Linked DNA regions of Homo sapiens: region 1 is linked to region 2. Evidence: promoter capture Hi-C in human tissues and cell types (Jung and others, 2019). All regions are on one chromosome and are shown on one strand. The core of a region is centred on a gene start or on the middle of the fragment in contact, and the rest is flanking DNA. Distances in the headings are between cores, read along the strand shown. Region 1 overlaps CADM2 (cell adhesion molecule 2). Region 2 holds the start of CADM2 (cell adhesion molecule 2).

Region 1 (3,176 bases), core at 532-3,031, 35 kb before region 2:
CTGAGAAAATAAGTTATAGTCTCTCCTGTCACTGAAGTTTTATCAGTTTGCTGGATTCCCCATTTGTGAACCAATAGGCATGGAAAACTCATCACTTAGTACAAGGACAAATACAAAAATATCAGAAATCCCATCAGGCATTTCAGCCATCTTTGACCAACCACTACAGAAGAAGTAAATTTCAACAACAAGCTAAAAAGCCAGTTGTGGAAACAACAAGCTAAAAAGCCAGTTGTGGAAACAATAAGCTAGAGGAATGATCAAATACTGTTAGCAATCATGGAAATAAATAGAATAATATTAATCTCTTTTGTAGGCAAGTAATCTCTTTTGTAGGCAAGTACTTAGTAATCTCTTTTGTAGGCAAGTACTTAGGCACTACATATAATCTCCAGAAATTGTCTGAAGTATGTATTATTCTCTCCTCTTTTAGATGAAAAAGCTGAGTCTTGGAAATACTAAGCAACTTCTCTAAATTTACACATCGCTAGGATTCCAACCCAACTGTTATCAAATCCAAATTAAAGCTTCTTTCCGTTATAGTGTGGTTGCGAAATGAGTTATGCAAATCTTCATTAGGGAAAATTCTCTCTTAATGCACACATTTTAAAATTGTATTAATCCCAGAAATTATTAAATTTGGCAAGAATAACATAAGCTCAATATTGGTGGACTGAGTTAGTTGCAAACGAGGTTTGCTTTCCATTTCTGCTTTATCAGGTTAACAAATGTACCTGCCATCCTCCATTAGAATCAGTTTTGAATTATATTAGCATGAAATTATGGCAGGTCCGCTATAACATAACACTGTTTTGGAATGTGACTAACCCTTATACCATGCTGCCTCAAATGTTTTAGCAAAAATTAGTTTTTGGGAGTTATTTGCACTCTTCATTTAGAAAGATTTTATAAAAATAATGAGGAAATAAATGTTTGAATGGATGAACACTTACATATTCTTTTATTTATTTATTTATTTTTTGAGACAGAGTCTCACACTGTCGCCCAGGCTGGAGTGCAACGGTTCAATTTCGGCTGACTGAAACCTCCGCTGCCTTCCGGGTTCACATGATTCTCCTGCCTCAGCCTCCCAAGTAGCTGGGTTACAGGTGCACACCACCACGCCCGGCTTATTTTTTGTATTTTTAGTAGAGACACGGTTTCACTGTGTTTGCCAGGCTGCTCTCGAACTCCTGACATCGTGATCTGGCCACCTGGGCCTCCTAAAGTGCTGGGATTATAGGCATGAGGCACCACGCCCAGCCGAACACTTGTATATTCTAAAATTGTTTAAAAATTTTATGTATATCCAAAAATATAATAAACTTTTTAAAGCAGTTTATTAAGTCATACTCTACACATTTTCTTGTTATAGTAATGTTAAGGTAAGAAAACAGGAAATGACAGTAATGTAAATTATGACTCAACTAAGCCAAAAAAGCAATAAAGAAGACAAAGAAACACTCTAAATTTTGTGTCTATAATTTTGAGGAAATTTTACCTACCTTCCTACTTACCTAAGGACACAGAAATAGTGACTGAAATTAAGCTAAGTGTGTATCTTAATGATCACATATAAATCATGCTGTCTGTATGATTTGCAAATATTGAGGTTTGCTATAAATATAGCCTAAGTGTATTTATTCAAAATATCAGTAAAAACCATAGCTAATTAAACTACTCTTATCGTAACACATACAATATTGACACTTGAAGTAAAAGGGAACTTCAAAAATTGGTGAAAATATATTTATTAGGATGTATTTATAACGATCTTGGCAGGCACTCTTCAAACTTAGAGAGTCAGAAGTGGAAAAGCGATGCCTGTGCCAAATTCCTTCAAAAATGTTACACACTCTAATATAGTGTACATGACAAGCCTGAAGTATTGAAAAGAAGCCATTTGAATTATCTGAGCACAAAAAAAAGGCATCTGGAAATTACCTAACAACTGAAACATCCTATTCACATTTTCTGGAATCTCATAATGCTGAAAGGATGTTCGGCAGGTCCTGAGCTTACACTAATTTGCAAGCTTTTGAACAAGTATAACAATTTCAAAAAATAGGTACTATTTTGGGGGTGTATCACTAATGAAATAGAATTTTAACAGAAGAAAAAGAATTTTAACCTTAATTTTGTTACTGTTGTGTTTCAATTCCTATTACAACATTAGTATTTATTGTCACGCTGAGATCCATTTAGAGACAATAGTAGGAAAAAAGGTCATAGTGCATTCTCTGTTCTGCACCCTAAGGCTACTGAGCATGGAATGAGCGAAACAAAGCATGCTAACTCCTTTTAGAACATGTCTATGAAGAAATACAACAGTTCATATCAGTCAGTGTGTTTCTGCTAATGGCTTTCAAATTTTAACTCTAGGAAGCTATAGTCAGGGTGTTTTCCGTGGAAAAAACAAACCCTTTTGACTTTCTGCTAATCCTTTCCTGATGGTGCACCACTTACCACCAGAGTGTTGCTCAAGATTTACTCTTTAAAGTTGACGATTACAGGGTCAACTAGGACCAGAAGTAACTTGATTTTAACTGTTACTACCACTTCCTCTCCCACAGTATGTACTATCTCTTTTCCCTCAGTGTTCCTTTTTCCTTGTCAAGAAACTACTCCATATGGTAACAGAGAGAGTATTGCTTTAGTCATTAAGGTAGTTTCACTAGCAATGGGCATCAAAATATTCCAGTTAATACGCTAAATCCCTTTTGTCACTGTAATGGGCTATAGTAGCTATGCACACTCCTATCCTCCTTTTGCTAACACACTTCTTTTCGTTTTAGGAATTGCCTCCTTAACTCTCTGGGTTCCCACTTGGGCCCGATAAACAAGCCCACCCCCAAGAATAGTGGTAAAATATTAAATCAGCCTGGGTAATGAAAGGACTCCTTAGTTCTATGTTCTAGTACATATTTTTTTTTCTTAAAATAGTTTGTTTTAGGTATCTGCCACTTGTAAGTGAGTAGTAAGAGAATTAAAATTATTGGAGTCACTGAGATTATTAAACCATACATCCTGGGTTGACAACCTTCAACATCCAATCTAAACATGGGAATCAACTTAAATTACAGGGACATGAAATCTACTACTTGAAAAGGCTGCTCGTCTCTACCTCCATCTCTTGCACAAATTCTCATATTCTCCCTGTTATCATGACGTAGCAA
Region 2 (3,402 bases), core at 469-2,968:
CCATCCGGCATCCAAACCCAGTGATTTGCATAATAACAGCGTTTTGTGCGGTTTCCCTCCACTGCTGCGGTCGCAGAGGTTCTTACATTTCACGTGAAAGGATAATATTAATTACGGAAAGAAGCGGCAGAGAGAGGATGGAGAGGTAGGAAATCTAAGTGAAAATATCTTAGCAGTAAAGTAACTGCTAGGGAGCATATATTTCTTTGGTTAAAAAAAAAAAGAAACGACACAGACTGAATAATAAAAAGTCAATGTGTTGATAAAGTGGGTTTGGGTCTTTTAATTTTTTTGCCTTTTCTCCCCTTTCTTAAATTCTTGGTTTATTTATTCATTCATTCACTCATTTTTTCTTTTTTCTTATTCTTTTTCCTTTCTTTTTCTTTTCTTTTCTTTTTTTTTAAATCCCAGACAGAGTCCCCTCTCTCTTCCTAGGTAAATGACACGTCTCAGAACACATTTCCCCCCCGGGGATGTTATTGCAATGCACACGGTGCTGTCGCTGCTGCTGTTCTCGCCCGTCTTGGTAGCTCGCTCCCAGGCTCTCACACACTTTTTAAAGACACACGGATATGATGATGGTGGGAAGAGGGGGAAAAGAAAAGGCGACCTGAAAAGGGGGAGGTTAAAGAGATGACAAGAGATGGAGAGGGTCGCTCAAGAGCGTGATGTGGGAGGTGGCTGGTGGGGGTTGTCGGGAGGGTGGAATGTTCAGAGAGGCACAAGTTGCCAGCCAAAAGGCGTGGGAGGGGGATGCTGGCGGGAATGGAGTGAGATGAAGGAAGCTCAGGTGAATGAGAAGGCAAAAGGTGCCGCGTAAGGGGCTGACTGCTGGGAAGGCAGGGCTGAGCCAGTGTTAGAAATTCGAGGGGCTGGTGCAAACTGCCACTGCCCCCTGCCGCACCAGAGAGTAGGGGGAGGGGGTGGAAATCGCTGGGGACAGGGAGACTGGGAGGGGAGAGTGGAAATATGGGGTGGAATGGGGAAGATGGGGAATGGGCGAGAAGTTGATGTTCCCTGCGCCGGGGCGGGGATTACCTTGTAGCAGGAGCCCGCAGACACTGTAGAAGCGGAGAACGGCGCTGCGTTTCCAAATCATGGTCCCTTCTCTAAAGGGCTGGGGAAGGAACGAGGGGGCAAGTAGATGCTGGTGAGCGGGGCACGAGAGTGCAGGGCTCCGCTGGTGTCCTCCTCCCGGCGCCCGCCGGACCCACCGTCCCCACCGCTGCGGTGTTCGAACCCGCGGACTCGGATCGGCGGCAGCAGAAGCGGCAGCGGCAAAGCACCCGCAGAATGGGGTATCGCGAAATAGTTTCTTCTCCTCCTCCTCCTGCTGGTGGTGCAGCCGCGACAGCCCGTCTTCCAGGCAGGGGTTTGGAGCTTGCCTTCCTCTCGGCGCGCACAGCAAGTCCCAGAGCCCGCCGGGGCTGCCCGAGCAGGTGGTGCAGGGATGCCGGGGTGTTGGAGAAGGTGCGGGCGAGGGCTGCAAGGAGTGGGTAGGTCACGGAGGGGAAGGGCTGGGGGAGAGGAGGAGCAAGCAAGCAGCACTGCCGCTCGCGCCCGGGGTGTCTCGGGGTCCTGGGAGGGGAGGTAGAAGCAGTGGAAGCAGCGCTAGTGGCGGTAGCAGCGGCAGCGGCGGCGGCAGTGGCGGCTCCCGGATGCTCCGGCTGCAGCGGCGGCTGTGGCGGCAGCGGCAGCGGCGACGGCGGCAGCTCTACGAAGCACCAGACACAAGGGCAAGCTCAGAGCGGCGGAGGCCCCGCCCCCACCCCGGCCAGGGACAGACACCGCCCCCCGGCCAATGGAAACTCCCCCGCCCACCAGGTCTGGCCAATGAGAGAAGGGGATGGGTGGAGACAAGCGCCGGGAAAAACAAACAGGCTTCTCAAGGACCCTTCGGGCAGGAAGAACTGAAGCCCCCATTCAGCACCCCTGGCGGATCTTACCTCTTTAGAGATGTCTCGCCCGAACTTGCAGGCGAGACAACTGCCTTCATTAATCAGCGCTTTGCACTCAGGAAGGGTTCAGCCAATCGCCACCGCGAGGGGGCGGGGTTAGCCGTGTCCCCAGCATGTTCTGGAATTCGTGGTGCCTGGGCCAGGTCCTGGGTGCGAGGTTCTTCTGCGCATTTGGACTCCTAGAGCAGATGGTGGCTGCACCTGCCCACTCACCAGCTGCAGTAGCAATCTCTGACGATTCCAGCAGCAAAAGGGAAAGATTGCAGAGGGCGTGGGAGAGGCTAAGTATAGGGAGTGGAACACCTACCTGCCTACAAGAACTTGTGCAAAAAAGGAAAAACAAGTGGAGGAAATAATTTTGTTGTTGTTGTTGTTCAGAGGTTTTACTTAGTCTAGGTATAAATCTCAGTAGAGCTTGGTGAGTAGCAGTGCTGGCACTGGCATCAGGCAGCCTTTGGTTCAAATAGCATAGCTGTCGCTTCATGTTTTATAATATTTGATGATTTACTTGAACGTTTAAGTCTAAAGCCTCCTCAACTGCAAAACCAGGATAATAGTACTTAAAGAGTTGTAAGGATTAAGTGAGAAAGCAATCATGTTAGCGTAAGTCCATGCAATGCGTACATACTTTAAAAATGGTGACTCTAGCTGTTTATTGGGATTTTTCTAATTCTGGATAGCAGGAAATCTTAGGCAAGCCTCTTTAAAATGTTTTAACAATAGCCTTACGAGGGGAGAGAGGCAGAAGTGCACTTTTTTAATGGACCTAACCAAAAGGAGTCACAGAAACTCAGGAAGCTGGAAAGAGCCACCTCTATAAATCAACACCCTGAAATGTGTCCTTTAGAAGAGGAGACATAAATGAGCAAGACATAAATGAATCAGAAGTTGTGTTTCTAAATGAGCTTAATTCCCAGGTTTTCCCTATGACCAGTTTTTAATTGGACCAAATTGGCAGATGATGGACTGGTTCAGTAGTGTTAAATCAGTCACACCATAAATAAAGTCGGCTTTGTTTGAGAGACTACACAATAGAAACCTGCAAGCAAGAAGACAGAGGGAAAGATGAGAGGCAAGATCAATATTGATGCCCTTCACTCTTTCCCATTTGTTGCTTACTTTGCCACAACCTTTTGCAAATTCAACCCTTGCCTTTTAACTAATGACCCATTCATTTCTCTGCCCACCTTTCTCCCCAGGTTCTCAAAATTAAGGAACAAAATGTCCATAATAAAACTGCAAGCACATTCTTGAAGAAAGATGTGTGAATACCTGTGTTATTGTAGGAGATAGTTGCCTACTGTGAGTTTTAGCTGTTAGGAAAGTCAGTCAGTGAGTCCACAGATACTGCTATCATTTAACCTATTGTGAGGATCAAAAGGTGAAATTCTAATCATTATTGACTCACGCTTAGGTTTTGTGTCAGGGAGAATATAACAAATGG

Evidence for each region. Contacts are between HindIII fragments. The study calls those that stand out against the background at their distance.
Region 1: a contact is called between a fragment that was not itself captured here and the fragment with the promoter of CADM2 in region 2, in 1 of the 25 tissues and cell types used here (dorsolateral prefrontal cortex).

The regions. Positions count from the first base shown.
Region 1 is chr3:84,992,836-84,996,011 of GRCh38, reverse strand. The region is part of intron 1 of CADM2 (cell adhesion molecule 2); the gene reads right to left. Among named protein-coding and RNA genes, the nearest start is that of CADM2, 35 kb to the right of the region's middle. The HindIII fragment of the contact is 3,667 bases long and covers 1-3,176 here.
Region 2 is chr3:84,957,305-84,960,706 of GRCh38, reverse strand. It overlaps CADM2 (cell adhesion molecule 2), which reads right to left and starts at 1,718. Exons shown (of 10, transcript NM_001167675.2): 1 at 1,039-1,718. The coding sequence starts at 1,099. The HindIII fragment of the contact is 15,126 bases long and covers 1-3,402 here.